Linked DNA regions of Homo sapiens: region 2 is linked to region 1. The links are contacts of gene promoters, found by promoter capture Hi-C in human tissues and cell types (Jung and others, 2019). All regions are on one chromosome and are shown on one strand. The core of a region is centred on a gene start or on the middle of the fragment in contact, and the rest is flanking DNA. Distances in the headings are between cores, read along the strand shown. Region 1 holds the start of ENOSF1 (enolase superfamily member 1). Region 2 overlaps USP14 (ubiquitin specific peptidase 14).

Region 1 (3,207 bases), core at 76-2,575:
CATTTCAGGTACAAAAAGAGTATAGATAATGTAATGGACACCAGCTTGCCATCCACCCAATTTAGGAAGTAAAACATTACAATGGGAATTAGAGACCTCGTGGTCCCCTCCGTGACCCCATTTCCTTCCCTCCCTACTGGTAACCATTTTCCTAACATTGCCGTTCCTCACTTCCCAGCATACTTTCACACATTCACTACATACCCATACAACTCTGCTTTTCTAGCGCGGCCAATCTCATCAGTGGACTACGAGGGGCAGTGAGGACCCAGTGGGGAACAGGCTCCCTGAAAACCCTGCACAGAACCCACTGTATTTGGGAAACACCGCTCTAGACGGGGGCAGGGGAGGGAAGGCCTGACATTCTAACACCCTCAGTAAGCAAAAAAGACCTTCAATATTTAGGTAGGAGTCAGAGTTCCTGCCCTTACTTTATTACATCTCTTAAGACGAACTGACATTTGCATCAGTCCTTTCTAAGCGTGTTTGCGGGTAATTTCACGAGAGCGCCCTCTCATGTGACGCAGTTAGCACGCGCTTGGTTTCTCAACCCGACTGTGACACCTTCATTACACAGACGGGTCCAAGAGACCCAGAGAGGTCTGGAACTTCTCCAAGTCACACAGCAAGTTGTGGAAGCGGGATCACCACTCAAAACTCCCAGCCCCGGGCTTCCCGTTCTCCCTCAGCGCCAACCCCGTCGCGTTCAGGGTACAGAGGAAGCCAGCGAGCGCTGTGCTCTAGGGTTTCCACTGGCGGGAACCCAACAAAATCATTTTGCTGCTATTGCCTATTATGCATTCTACCATTTCCAGCAAAATGTGAGTCGTAAAAGTAAAACCAGGATATTCTAAACTCCAGCAAAGAAAAAACCCAGGAGAGTGGAAAGTTTCTGGATACTTATACAATTGCTCCAAGGCATGAAAAGCGAGTGTCTCCCCCAGGCGCGCCTCCCACTTTACAGAAGCAATGGGTTCGAAGTCGGGAAGCTGCCCGGGGCCCGCAGAGCTGCAGTCGGCGGGGCGGGAGGGACCCGGGCCGCAAGCCGCGCGTACCATGGCGTCCGCGCTTACCATGGCGTCCGCGCTTACCATGGCGTCCGCGCTTACCATGGCGTCCGCGCTTACCATGGCGTCCGCGCTTACCATGGCGTCCGCGCTTACCATGGCGTCCGCGCTTACCATGGCGTCCGCGCTTACCATGGCGTCCGCGCCGTGGCCCCCAAGCGACGTGGGGAAGCGCACGTCCCGGACCGAGAGCCGGGAGATCCTGCCGCGCACCATGGCCCCTGCGCCCCGTGGCCGCGGCCCCCGTGCGGTCAGGACTGGTCGGGATCCCGAGCGCGCGGCGGGAGGGCGGGAGGGCGGGAGCGCGGCAGCGCCGCGAGGCGGGGCACCGTCAGGGCATAGAGGGCGCTCATTGGCCGCGCGGCCGCACCCCGTGAACTTGGCCCCATGGGAGCTGCAGTCCCAGCTCCGGGCTCCCGGGGGCGCACTCCGCCTTCCGCCGTTCCCTTCTCAGCCTAGACGGAGCTGACCCCGAGAGGGTTCGCTCAGGGTCGCCGGGGAACCTGGGCAGGCAGGAGGCCTCGCGCCCGGTCGGCGCCTCCGCGGGACCCTGCTCTGCTCGGATGGAAGACTCGTGAAGGGACCTGCCCGGGAGCCGCGCCCTAGAGGGAGAAGTCGGGTCTGAGCGAGTGCATTCGCTCAGCGGCAGATTCCGGCCAGTGGCTCAGCTCCCAAGCCGAGGCCGCTGGTTGTCGCCAGCGTACCCAGGAGAGCGGTGCCCTAGAAAATGCTAGGTCTCTTTCAGTGCCCACAGCCTCAGTTTGCCACCTGATAAATTAAGAGGCAGGTCATCATTGATTACACCCGTACTGATGCAGATGAGGTCCCCGTACCGTGCCTCAGCCTGTAATCCCAGCACTTCGGGAGGCCGAGGCGGGCGGATCACCTGAGGTCAGGCGTTTGAAATCAGCCTGGCCAATACGGCGAAATCCCGCCTCTACTAAAAACAAAAATTAGCAGGGCGTGGTGGTGCGCGCCCGTAGTCCCGGCTACTCGGGAGGCTGAGGCAGAACTGCCTGAACCCGGGAGGTGGAGCTTGCAGTGAACTGAGATCGCGCCACTGCACTGCAGCCCGGGCGACAGAGCAAGACTCCGACTCAAAAAAAAAAAAAAAAAAAAAAAGATGCTGGGCGGCTCACGCCTGTAATCCCAGCAGTTTGGGAGGCCAAGGCGGGCAGATGGCGAGTCAGGAGATCGAGACCATCCTGGCTAACACGGTGAAACCCCGTCTCTACTAAAAATACAAAAAATTAGCCGGGCGTGGTGGCGGGCGCCTGCAGTCCCAGCTACTCGGGAGGCTGAGGCAGGAGAATCGCTTCAACCCAGGAGGCGGAGGTTGCAGTGAGCCGAGATCGCACCACTGCACTCCAGCCTGGGCGACAGAGTGAGACTGTGTCTCAAAAATAAATAAATAAAAAGAAATAAAAAGAAAATCCAAAGTAAGCAGAAGAGAAGAAATAATAAAAATTAAAGCAGAAACCTGTGAAATTGAAAACAGGAAAGCAACAAAGAAAAATCAATGAAAACAAAAGCTGGTTCTTTGAAAACATTGATAAAATCAATAAGCCTCTAACCAGGCAAGAAAAGAGAACGCAAATAACTAATATCAAAAGTGAAATAAGGAACATTACTACAGATCCGACGGACATTAAAATGATAATAAAGGAATACTATGAATTCTATGTCCACAAATTTGATAACCTGGATGAAATAAACCAATTCCTTGAAAGACACAATCTGCCAAAACTCACACGAGAAGAAATGGACAATCTGAATAGGCCTATATCTATTAAATAACTTGAATAAATAATAGCCTTCCAAAAACAAAAAGCACCAGGTCCATGGTTTCACTGGTGAATTTTACACCAAACATTTAAGGAAGAAATTACAACAATTCTCTATAATCTATTTCAGAAGATAGAAACAGCCACAAACTGACTTTATGGTGAATGATTGATGCTTTCTCCTTAAGATTTGGAACAAGGAAAGGATGTCTGCTTCCACCACTTCTATTCAACATAGTACTGCAGGTTCTAGTTAGGGTAATATAATAAGAAAAGAAATAAAAGGCAGATTGAAAAGGAAGTAAACCTGTTTATTCTTGGATGACATGATTATTCATCTTTGTTGAAAACTGTCT
Region 2 (3,328 bases), core at 489-2,988, 510 kb before region 1:
CACATAAAACAAGGTTATGTATTGATTGGTTGATGAAAATGTTGTGATCAAAGGCTGGCGGGAATCTAATCCTGTATTTCCCCTAGGAGCAGTGGTTCAGTATTCATTGATTCAGTGCTTGTGGTGACTTTGTAGAACATAATTACCGTGACTAACAAAATCAACTGTATAGTCAGAAATCAAACAAACTTCAACTAGCTCTTCATTTCATAGACAAAAGCATTATTGACATGGTTGCATATGCTAACAAATATTGGGACATCTCACTTTTTAATCACTGGGTGTTCCTGCTTCACACTGTGAAGAAGCACCTAGTGCTTTGTGCTGTACCTTGCTTTATTTTAAAGCACTCAAGAAATGTTTGTTGAATAGTTTACATGTTTGTTAAGATTTTTCCTTAGAGATAGTTGTTTTCATGGGCCCTATAACTTAGCTGAACTGTTAACTTTAAGGAAAATTACTTAATCTAAGCTACTGTTTTCTTACGTGAAAATGAGAGTAACTATAGGGTTGTTTGTGGGTTTGTGCTCTTAACCATTAAGGGTGATCATATAATGTATTGTCTAAACCAGGACACTTTGGTGGAGAGTGAATGAGGGTATGTTAGTAATTATGCAATATAAACTGGGATTTTTCTGTGCAAATCAGGGCATGTAGTCGTTCTGCCATTGCACTGTCTTGCAGTTGAGGCCCTGGAATTTAAAGTAACCTAATTGGCTTTTGGCAGAGCCAGAACTAGAACTTGCTTCTTTCATTATTCAGTTAGTGCTGCTTTTCCAGTGCCATACTAAAGAATACGGACTCACATAAAATGTCAGCTTCCACTCTGCTAATAAGCCCATGGATAAAACATACGGTTTTGCTTGCTGACTTACTAATTTGGTGTGCTTTGGGGATATGTATATCTCTCGAAGGATCTCCCCATTTGAACTGATACCTTTTAATAGTTTTCAAATTATAGTTCATGTGATTCCACTTCAAAAGCACTGATAATTAGGATTGTTTATTTTATTTTATTTTATTTATTTATTTACTTATTTTGAGACGGAGTCTCTCTCTGTCACCCAAGCTGGAGTGCAGTGGCACAATCTCGGCTCACTGCAACCTCTGACTCCCAGGTTCAAGAGATTCTCCTGCCTTAGCCTCCTGAGTAGCTGGGACTACAGGTGCGTGCCACCACACCTGGCTGATTTTTGGTATTTTTGATAGAGACAGGGTTTTGTCATGTTAGCCTGGATGGTCTCAATCTCCTGACCTTGTGATCCGCCCACCTCGGCCTCCCAAAGTGCTGGGATTATAGGAATGAGCCACCGTGCCCAGCCAGGATTATTTATTTTAAAAGTTAGCTTCTTCCTAAACACAGTTGTATGAAAAATAAATGCATGAATAAAAGTTAGCCATTGCAACATCTAGATATTTGAAGAAGGGCCTGGAGGGCAGAATTTTTAAAAATCCTGGTTGATCCTCTTTGCTGTCTCCTCTAACCATGACCAATAAAGAGAAGTCTTGAAGGAAGAAAAGTCAGTGAAAAATGATGAGACATTGGAATAGGTCCTCTGTGCAGAGGCCTAGTTTGGGCAGAGGAGGTGGGTTGATAAACACTGAAGTGGGACATGGATTATGTTGATAAACAAGATGATTTGTTATCTGGGGGCTCTCATCTATAGTTTGGGATAAGGTTGGCAAGGGGAAGGGTTGTTAAAGGGCATAAGAAGAAGAGTGAGTGAGTCACGCTCTGTCTTATGATACCGAGGGGAGAGTTTTGAGCCAGTGTGGATATGAACATGGTGACTTTTAAGAGAAATTCATTTAAAAACACACAAAACTTCTTAACCCCCAGGAGCCAAATCATGTAAGGCATGGTGTGCAAGTTTCAGGATATACCAGCAAATGAAGTCTCAGTGTTAACTGGAGAGTGTGGAGTGGAGTGCTTTGGCAGGGACTCTCCAGGATGGTATTTTCTTCACAATTTTGTAAAAGTATAGGAAAACCGAACATACCCAGAAGGTCTAGATGATAGTGGATTGGTGGTAATAATAAGATTTCACCAGATATACTTTCTTGAAAAACCTGTATTCCTAGAATGTATTTATTTCCTTTATAACTTTTAAGATATTTTATCTTTTGTTCTGATAATTCTTGAGTAATTTGGCTTCGTTTCTCCACTGCTTTGCTGCTGAATAAACTTGGTTAAATGTTAAAAAGCTACTCCACAGTGATTCCTTTTGTAATATGATTAGTAATTTTAAAAAATCAGACTTTAAAATTATACAAGTGTAACATGCTTAAACATTACCAGTAGGTTATTTTAATTCTAATTTCTTTTTTGTTTGTTTTCTTAAAGCAGAGCACATAAGTAGTGCTAATTCTTTCTGTGACATTAGAAATAGTAGTGAATGTTTGTTAAATGTAGAGTATATGCCAAATATTTTACCAGGTTTTCTACATGTACTGACTGTAATTCTAACAATAACACTATAACATTGATTACCACTACCACCTTTTCCAAATGATGCCCAGAGGGATAAATACCGTTTCCACTGTTACACGGGCTGTAAGAAGCAGAAAGGTGATCATGCTGGTTAAGATATGTGCAGCAGCTAAAGGCTTTCCCACATCTGTTAGGTTAACAGAGGTTTCTGTGTTATGACTTTTTTCAAATTTAACAATAATTCATTGGTGCTGATTGGCTTTTATGCATAAAACGTAAAGAACAGGAGTTTCTTGGGCTCTCTTAATTTTCCTCTAGAGTGAATATTCTGATAATAAACAGGAATGACAGCTTTGTTATATAAAATACAATATAAAATTCTCTGAATCTAAGCATCATTTGGGGCATAGCTAAAAAAGAGCAAACAGTATTTACACTCGGAGGAATCCACAACAACGTAAATTATTTGATGCCTTGTAAGAATTGAACAGTATCTAAAAGTCTTCCCATATTGTCATCAAATTGTGTCTCAGTGGTATAAACCCATTGATGTACTGTATATTGCCTCTTAGGTAGTGCTAGTTTTTAAAAGGCTTACTGGTGTGATTCTATATTGCAGAAATAAAATTTTTAAAACTAATGTTTGGTCTTCTGTTATGTTCTTTCTTAGCGACTTCAGGAAGAAATCACCAAACAGTCTCCAACGTTGCAAAGAAATGCCTTGTATATCAAATCTGTAAGTTATGCAGTCCTTTCGAAGCCAAATTCCGCTTCACTGAAATATTTCCAGTTAATTAATTTTATCCAGTCTTAATTTTTACCACCAAATAATTAAAACTTGTATGGTATTTTGATGTAATGGGATTTCTTTACATTTTGTCTCCTCAGTCCAAGATC

The links. The method cuts DNA at HindIII sites, captures the fragments that hold promoters and counts their contacts. A contact is called where the count stands out against the background at its distance.
Region 2: a contact is called between a fragment that was not itself captured here and the fragment with the promoter of ENOSF1 in region 1, in 2 of the 25 tissues and cell types used here (dorsolateral prefrontal cortex and lymphoblastoid cells).

Annotation. Positions count from the first base shown.
Region 1 is chr18:711,305-714,511 of GRCh38, forward strand. ENOSF1 (enolase superfamily member 1) reads right to left here and starts at 1,326. Exons shown (of 16, transcript NM_017512.7): 1 at 1,200-1,326. The coding sequence starts at 1,283. RefSeq lists a silencer at 1,251-1,570 and an enhancer at 1,522-2,101. The HindIII fragment of the contact is 7,627 bases long and covers 1-3,207 here.
Region 2 is chr18:199,779-203,106 of GRCh38, forward strand. It overlaps USP14 (ubiquitin specific peptidase 14), which reads left to right. Exons shown (of 16, transcript NM_005151.4): 11 at 3,102-3,167; 12 at 3,320-3,328. Among named protein-coding and RNA genes, the nearest start is that of USP14, 43 kb to the left of the region's middle. The HindIII fragment of the contact is 5,497 bases long and covers 1-3,328 here.